Linked DNA regions of Homo sapiens: regions 2 and 3 are each linked to region 1. The links are contacts of gene promoters, found by promoter capture Hi-C in human tissues and cell types (Jung and others, 2019). All regions are on one chromosome and are shown on one strand. Each heading gives the region's core, a stretch centred on a gene start or on the middle of the fragment in contact. The rest is flanking DNA. Distances are from core to core; before and after follow the strand shown.

Region 1 (2,990 bases), core at 337-2,836:
AGGGAAGTGAGTCACCTGAGGTGACCGGTGAAGGTGACGGAGAGGGAGTTAACCGAGACAGAGAAGATTCCGTAGATGGTAGAACATTGTTAGAATCAGCTGATAGATTGGGTGAGTAGGTATTAGCCAAGTTAGAAAGCACCGTCCTCCTTGAGACGAGCAGGGAAGGAGAAGGAGAGCCTCTACTTTTCATCCGAGTTAGAGGAAAAGTAAAAAGGACCCAGGGAGTGCAGAAGACATCCGAGGCCCCAATGATGGCCTCTCTGGGCAATCCTTCTCCCTTCCAACAATGGCCTCTCTGGGCAATCCTTCCCTCTTACAACGATGGCCTCTCCGGACAATCCTTCCCCCTTCCAATGATGGCCTCTCTGGACAGTCCTTCCCGCTTCCAACGATGGCCTCTCTGGGCAATCCTTCCCCCGTCCCGTGCTTCCGGAGAGCCACGCCGTCAACACCTGGACGATGCTACCTCCTTCCCCACCTTCTTGCCTCCCTTTCTCAGTCTTTCCCTGACCCCTCCCTCTGCCTCTCTCGCTTTCTGAATCCCATTCCATTCCCCATCCTTGAGTTCCTCTTATGGTATGATTCTGTTTGGATGCTGGGGTGAGGGAGAGGGCAACAGAAGAAATGCAAGGAACATACTCTAGTTTGAGCACAAACGAGTTGAAGAAGAATGCAGTAAGTGCCAAAGCATCCCTGTTGGTGCCTTAGGAAACTGAGGGGAGAGGAGGGCTGGAAAGTATTCCTAGGTGAAGTGGGACCAGTATTGAGCTAATAATAAATAATTATTATTATTTACAACAGCGACCATTTATTGAATCCTAATTATATGCTTGGCATTTTGCATCCCTTCCTCTTCTGATCCTGACAACAAGGCTGGGGCGTAGGGATTATCTTCATTTTACAGATAAGGGACCTGAGGCTCAGAGCTTAAGACTTTGTCTTCAGACTTTGGTCAAAGGAATAGAAGAAATAGCACTGTTAGAAAAGTGACTACCCAAAGTTCCTTCCTCTTTAGGTTTAGAGTGACCCTAAACAAGGATGCCCCTCTGGCCACCTGGGAGGCAGGGGGAAGGCAATGGCTGGCCCAAGGGAGCTGACCTTGGGAAGCCCCAGTACTGAGCCTCCCCCACAGCAGTAGCCCATCTCCGGAACAGAGTGTGGGGGCAGGTGTCCCCACCCCAGAGAAAACACCCCCCATCCCCACCTCAGCACAGGAGCCAGTGGGACAGAATGATACTTCCAGGCACCTGGGATTCCCTCCTGGAGCCCCAGTGCAAGGTCCTATAGCTTTAGCTGTGACTAGTTGCTCACCCACAGGTATCTCTTTCTCTCTCTCTCTCAATTTCTCTCTCTCTCATTCTCCTGCATCCTTCCAATGTTGGCAACCTTCCAACATTGCCAAGCTCCTTCCCCACGCCCATCCAGGCCCCTAGACTCACTTTAGCTGGGACCGGAGAGAGCAGCATCCACCTTCCCTCCTGGGGCCTCCAGCAGATCTGAGCCACCCCGAGGTGCTGAGCAGCAGCACGATCTCCTCCTGTTGCTGTTAGTGTGACCGCCACCGCCGAGGCAATTCCTAATGACAGAGCAGGTCGGGAGGACAGCGCGAGGAAGTGAATGTCGCCCAACCCGTTTGAGGCCAGGAGGCTTTGGCGTTGCCCAGGGGGTTGGCAGCTGCTGGAGTCAGGTGATCTTGCTGAGGATGCCAGGAGAGGAACCCCCAGCTTGAGGAGGAGCCCAGGGGTGGGTGCTCAGGAGAGTCAGAGGGTCTCACAGTGGAGGCAGTGACCCAGGACCCCTTTGACTGAGGCTCCCCAGGCATGGGTCTCCCTATCAATAGGAAAGTCACCCACACTGTCCTTCCCACCCTCCTGGACCCATTTCTGTGATCCCCATCTTCCCCCCACACCCCTATCCTCACACCATGCACAGGGTGAAGGGGTCAGTAGTAGATCAGCCTCGGGAAGTCTATGACACTCAGAGTCATATATTTGTGGGATCTGCCTGTGTGCATTTGTCATTCATGGAACACCCAAAGGCGCTTAGAACTCCAAAGACCCAGCACCACTGGCATAAAGAACGAGGCGAGTAAGACCAGTGAAGCAGGAATGCACACAGATATGGAAAGAAGTCCCCGGCATCATGATAAATGGAAGCAACTTTCAGAACAGCCTGTGTAATACAATTCTATTTATGAAGATAATAATACATGATCATATTCATAGAGGAAAAGCTGGAAGAAAACACATCAGACTGTTAATAGCAGTTATCTCTGGAGAGACTTTCTAAGTTTTATATTTCTGTGATGTTTGCATTTTCACCCTGAATGTATGTTTCTTTTGTGATTAGAGAAAAAGTCATCCACTGGGTATGGTGGCTCATGCCTGTAATCTCAGCACTTTGGGAGGTTGAGGCGGGCAGACTGCTTGAGGCCAGGAGTTCGAGACCAGCCTTGCCAACATGGTGAAACCCTGTTGCTACTAAAAATACAAAAATTAGCTGGGCAAGGTGGTGCAAGCCTGTAGTCTCAGCTACTCGGGAGGCTGAGGCACAAGAATTGCTTGAATCCAGAAGGTGGAGGTTGCAGTGAGTGAGCCAAGATTGCACCACTGCACTCCAGCCTGGATGACAGAGTGAGACTGTCTCAAAGAAAAAGAAAAAGTCATCAAGAATAATGGAGGAATGAAGTTCGGGGAACTGGAAATCATTTTGGAGGATTCCCTCCCAGTCCTCTCAGGAGGTCCCCAAGAAACCAGTTTTCTTCTGAAAAAGTAAGTTACTGGGTCCAAGGCACAGCCCAGCATGTGTGTGACCCCATAGGATGACACAGGATGACCCCTCTTCTGTCCGATCAGTCATGGCCCTGGCTTAATGGACACCTTGAAGCTGGTGGGGAGGACAGTCAGGCCAGTGCACTCGGCCACTTCACCATGGACAGAGATCCGTGAGTGCAAGCCGTCGTCACAGTCTCTCTTGTTCTTTCCCTG
Region 2 (2,990 bases), core at 352-2,851, 210 kb after region 1:
GATGATTAGAGAATTGTTATTTCTTTCTTAGATAGATAATAGTTATGCATCCCAAAACCCGTTGCTGAGAAGATGCTAAGCAGAGCTTTCAGCAGCACAAAAGTCTAAGAGAACAAAAATTAAAACATTCCAGTCTACTCAGGAAGAGGTTGGTGTGGCGGTGGTAAATACCCCAAGCTTTCAGCTGGGACCCTGATGGCTACACCCTAAGAGTTAAGACTATATGAGAAACAGACCAGCCCTCACACAGCGTGAAGCCCAGTTGGAACAGAAGTCAACTCCTGCATGGACTACATGTCCTAGTTTCCCTAAGCCTGCCTGCCCAAAGCAAAACTCTAGAATAAGCTTAATGCCAGCCAGAGTCTCAAACTATTTCCACAATTCCTTGTACACAATAACTGGGCATATGAGGCAACAAGTTGTGGCTGAAATCCAAGATAATATCTGGAACCTCTGTGTGTCTATTTTTATTGACTTGTATTATTGCCCTGGGTTACAATATGTTCAAGTAATTAAAGACGTGACTGAGAATTCTGACAGAGAACTGGAAACTATTAAAGGAAAAACCCAAATGAAAATTCTAAAACTGAAAAACAAAACAAAACAAAACAAAACAAAAAAAGAAAACCAGTAACTACAATTAAGAATTCATGTGTTAAACAGCAAGCTAGATACAGCTGAAGAAACAATTAGTTACACGGCATTTTAATCAGAGGCAAACAGCCAGAGTGATCCATGGGGGAAAAACAAGGATAAAAATGTAGAGGAATGTGAGACCCAGATGGGACGAGGTGAAACGATCTGGAGCATGTGAAGTATGTGAGTCCAAGAAGGAGAAAAAAGAGAATGAGGCAGAAGCAGTATCTGAAGAGATAATGGCTAAGAATTTTCCCGGACCAACAAAAGCCATCAAGCCACAGAGTCAAAACCACTACAATCTCCAAGCTGAATGCAGTAGTGCCCCTTATCTGTGGTTTCACTTTCTGCAGTTTGTTGTCCACAATCAACTGTGGTCCAAAAATATTTGTTGAAAAACTCCAGAAATAAACAGTTCATACATTTTAAATTGTGCACTATTCTGAGTAGTGTGATGAAATCTGGCACAATTCCGCTCCATCGTGCACAGACCGTGAATTATCCCTTCGTCCAGCATCATCATGCTGTACAGCTATTAATCACTTGGTAGCCCTCTCAGATCTCAGATCAACTGTGTTCAAGTCACCTTTATTTTACTTAAGAATAGCCCCAAGCACAAGAGTAGTGATGCTGGCAATTCTGATATGCCAAAGAGAAGCCACAAAGTGCTTCCTTTAAGTGATATGGTAAGTTTTCAACTTAATAACGATAAAATCATATGCTGAGGCTGCTAGGATCTATGGGAAGAATCAATCTTCTATCTGTGAATTTGTGAACTAGGAAAAAGAAATTCATCAAATCATCACAAGAAGAGTACAATAAGATATTCTGAAAGAGGGAGAGAAACCACTTACATAACTTTTATTAAGTATATTGTTTTAATTGCTCTATTTTAATAGTTATTGTTGTTAATCTCCCACCACGCCTAAATTGTAAATTAAATTTTATCATAGGTATGGCCAGGTGCGGTGGCTCACACCTGTAATCGCAGCACTTTGGGAGGCCAAGGAGGGGGCAGATCACGAGGTCAGGAGTTCAAAACCAGCCTGACCAACACGGTGAAACCCCGTCTCTACTAAAAATACCAAAATTAGCCAGGCGTGGTGGCGCACGCCTGTAATCCCCGCTACTCAAGAGGCTGAGGCAGTGGAATTGCTTGAACTGGCAGGTGGAGGTTGCAGTGAGCCGAGATTGCACCGTTGCACTCCAGCCTGGGCTACAGAGGGAGACTCTGTTCTGTCTCAAAAAAAAAAAAAAATTATCATAGGTATGTATGTATAGGAAAAAACATCATATATATATGGTTCAGTACCATTTGTGGTTTCAGGCATCCACTGGGGATCTTAGAATGTATCCCTTGAAGACAAGGAGGACCCACTATATACAAAATAAAACTTTACCTAAGCCCATCACAGTAAAAGTGTTGAAATCCAAAGACAGAGAAAATTTTAGAGACAGCCAGTGGCCGGGGTGGGAAAAGGAAAACCGATGACCTTCAAGGGAACAACAATCAAACTACAAGCTGAATTCTCAACAGAAAAAGACGAAAGGCAGAACCCGATGCAATGGCATTTTCACAATGTTAAAAGAAAACAACCGCCGGCTCTGAATTCCAAATCCAGCAAAAACCAAAAAAACTTCAAAAATAAAGGACGAGTAGATACTTCAGATAAAAGGGGCCCTTTCTAAAAGAACGGAAGCTAAAAGATGTGGAAAAAAAAGAGTAATGGATAAAACTAAATGAATATCGACAGTATTAAAATGTAATATGTGTCTTGTGGGTTTTAAAATATAGAGAGAATTAAACAACAAAAGCACATAAATTAGGAAGGAAGAGGAAATAAATTTGTTCAGGTGCTCTCAGGCCCTACCTATCATGATCTACAAAAGAATAAGAGCTCCACATGTCTAACAGGTCAAGGATCCATGTTGGAATATGTAACCACTAAAAGAATAGCTAAGCAAATAGCAAAAATGGACAGCTAACACGAGGTGAAAAGACAGAATAATAAAAATTATAACCAACGGACAAAAAGATTAAAAAATAAACATAGAGCGGGTAGGATAAAAAGAAAGCAATGAATCAGAGGACAGATTTAAGCTAAAATGTAACAGTCATTACATCACATGTACATAAACTAAATATTCCAGCTGAAAAATATTGTCAGATTTGGGACAAAAATAACCACCATAAGCAGTTTATGAGAGACATATTTTAAAGGCACAGGCACAGAAAAGCTGAAAGTAAGTTAAGAAAGCAATTAACCACACAAACACTAATCCAAAAAAAAAAGGCTAATGCAAATATCAGACTTTGCAAGAAAACAACAGTCAATTTTGCAAGAAAACAACAT
Region 3 (2,990 bases), core at 158-2,657, 170 kb after region 1:
TGTGCCGAAAATGCCCACTCCATAATTGATTTGCATAAAGGTCAGATTATGGTACTTAGAATATTCAATCGGAACTTCACCAGTAAAAACAAAAGCATGGAAAACCCCCAAAACGTGACAAGTACCTTGTGTATTAATTACAGCTACACATTTTGATAACGCTTATTGTATACCAATCCAGAAACAAGTGAAATTACACGTGTACTGTGAGAGCTCTCAACAGCAAAGACAACTAGAATTCTCTCATATATAATCAAATATAACTTGTTAAGGATTTCACTCAAAATGTGCAATAGGGAAACCCGGATATTTGATATTTTCATACCCTGAAGAAAATAAAATGAAAATTATCTTAATTAGTTTCAAAAATTTTGTTTGTTCTGAATTGACATCGATTTCTAGAATCTTTTCTGGGGTGATTATAATGTATCTATAGTAACTAAAACTAGATTAGTTATTAGTTAGCAACTTAATTTAGGGGCAATGCAGGTTTGTTTCATATTCTGAACATATTTTCCCCCTTCTTAATTTGGCATCTAAAGTTATTACATGATCTGCAGTATGCATTAAAACACATCAGCACAGATAGGGTGCTATGCATGTGTGTTAGCTATTTGCCCTAAATGAGAAAATCCATTCTAGGAGTAATGAGCTAGCACTTAATCCAAAGGCCAGATGGCCACCTTAAATGCTTTAGCTATCTTAATCTCCAAACCAAACCAGAAGCTTTGTTGTTAGTAAAATGAGTTTTCACATGCACTAAGTGGCCTCATTACTTAGTATAATGGATATTAGAAATCACTAGGGTAACATGAGTGGCATTAAGCCATGGACTGATTAGAAAGAGATATATATTAACTTCAAATAGAGCCTTAAAAAAAGATAAATACATAAATAAAAACAAAGAAAGATATATATAGACCCTCCCCAATCCGGGGTCAAGGGAACAAGTGTTGAGACTCCAGCAAGTCCAGGAGGCTGTATTGTTGGGGGTGCTCCTAGAGCTTGATACTAAATGGCTGTGTGCAGCCAGTGATCTGGAAGATGCTGGTTGCCTGGTGCAGACCATATTCTGTCACTGATACTGTCACATTTGCCTCAGTAAATCTTTCAGGTAAACGTTTGGTTAGAGAAATTAAACAGAGCTGGGCTGCATGCAACTTACAAAACTGTTTTCAGCAACTGCCTTTTGATAAATAGATATGAGGGTGCAGAATCCGGACGTGCTTTCATTATAACCTGGTCGCCAAACTGTAAGGAGGATGCCTAGAGCCCTTACCTAGCTTTAACTGCTGGAGGATACTTATCTACCAAGAGGTACATAATAGTTGGAAATTGCCAGCCTGGCTTAAGTCAACTTGGAAAAAAAAAAAAAAAAGAGAGAGAGAAAGAAAATAAAAGGAAAGAAAAGAAGGATTTGTGGAAATAGAGAAAGTGATTCTAACTAAAACTCTGTGAGGGAAGATGTACCTGCTGATCCAAACAATCATTTTGAAATTGAAGTCCCTGTTTTTAAAGTTTCATTATGAGAGATTCTTTTTACATAAATCTCCTCCATCTGGAACGCATTTTACTTCTCCATAAACAGAGAACTGGACTAACTGTGAACGATTATTTTCTTAAGGGTAATGCTCTCCTAAATAAAGAATCCCTTTAATATAAACCATATGCTAGTATCTTTGAAAGAAAAGATATTCTTCAGGAAATTAGTCGTCTATATCAGATCAAAGAAATGGAACCAAATGGATTCTAAAGCTTATGGAGTTTATAGCCTCAAATATTTTCACTGTAAGCATGTAGCTTATAAATATGACTGCATGAAATTTCACTGTATACACAACTCATTTTTTAACATCGTACTACTCTTGGTATGACATTGATCTCAACCCAAGGCCTGGCCTGCCCACGGAGCAACTGCCTCCCTCATGTTCTCTACCCTTGCTTCTAAAATGGGGGCATGCATATTCTCAGAGGATCTAGCATATGCACTACCTTCCCCGAGCTCAACAACATCATGACATGCCGTTGAAAACATATTAAAGTTAACACCAATATGAAGGTGTGCTCTACAGGGCTAGGGAACCTTAGTTTTGACCACTGGTATATTCCCAGGGCCTGGAAGAGTGTATGGCACTTTGTAGTGTCTGCCACATTTTCAGTAAATGAATTCCATAAAATCCATAAATATACCTGTGGGGCACTATGCTAGGAACCAAAGATACAAAGTCCCTACTGACAAAGATCTTAGACATTCTACTAGGAAAGATAATAAATACACAAAGTAATTAGTTACAGCTTGTGATAGGTGCCATGAGGGAAATAAACAGGATACTGTGATAGAGAATAATAGAAGAAATATCCTCAGATATGGTTTTAGACTAACTAGCTAGTTAGGAGAAGAAATGTGGACAGATCTGAAACACCTTCTAGATGTTTAACCAACAGGATTCACTGTTGGCCTGGACGTGGGCCATGAGAAAAAGGCTGATTCCTAGGTATTTTGTCTTTCTAGGTTTTGCTATTGCTTTTATTTTAAGTTTAACCAACTGGGTGATTTCATAATACCATCTATTGATGTAAGACATAAAGGAACAAATTTTGAAAGGAAAGGAAAAACTTTCATTTGGAATATGTTAAACTTCAAGAATCTATTGACATCCATTTGGAGATATCAATTAAGCTGCACAGTGGCTGGCAAATAATAGGTGCTTAATAATTAAAAGAACTAAATAACAAATCAAACATCAAAATTACACAGAATTGAATTTAAAAATGAGTCTACAACAGTTTCTTTCAAACCCCAAGAACCAACACCAATAGATAAATATTAAAGGGGAATTTTAACTGAACATTATTTAATCAATGGACCTAATTATTTTTAATGGAGCTACTGAGATCAACTACTTGTTTTAGTACTGTGTAGGTAACACCTTATGATAACAGTAGATAGCAATAAACTATTACTAAAAAAAATACGTATCAATAAAAGT

Evidence for each region. The method cuts DNA at HindIII sites, captures the fragments that hold promoters and counts their contacts. A contact is called where the count stands out against the background at its distance.
Region 2: a contact is called between a fragment that was not itself captured here and the fragment with the promoter of RNF222 in region 1, in 1 of the 25 tissues and cell types used here (aorta).
Region 3: a fragment that was not itself captured here is called in contact with the fragment with the promoter of RNF222 in region 1 in 1 of the 25 tissues and cell types used here (lymphoblastoid cells).

The regions. Positions count from the first base shown.
Region 1 is chr17:8,396,241-8,399,230 of GRCh38, forward strand. It overlaps RNF222 (ring finger protein 222), which reads right to left and starts at 1,587. Exons shown (of 3, transcript NM_001146684.3): 1 at 1,455-1,587. The HindIII fragment of the contact is 8,302 bases long and covers 1-2,990 here.
Region 2 is chr17:8,610,976-8,613,965 of GRCh38, forward strand. All of the region lies in intron 2 of MYH10 (myosin heavy chain 10), which reads right to left. Among named protein-coding and RNA genes, the nearest start is that of MYH10, 18 kb to the right of the region's middle. The HindIII fragment of the contact is 6,260 bases long and covers 1-2,990 here.
Region 3 is chr17:8,562,530-8,565,519 of GRCh38, forward strand. All of the region lies in intron 7 of MYH10 (myosin heavy chain 10), which reads right to left. Among named protein-coding and RNA genes, the nearest start is that of MYH10, 67 kb to the right of the region's middle. The HindIII fragment of the contact is 5,307 bases long and covers 1-2,990 here.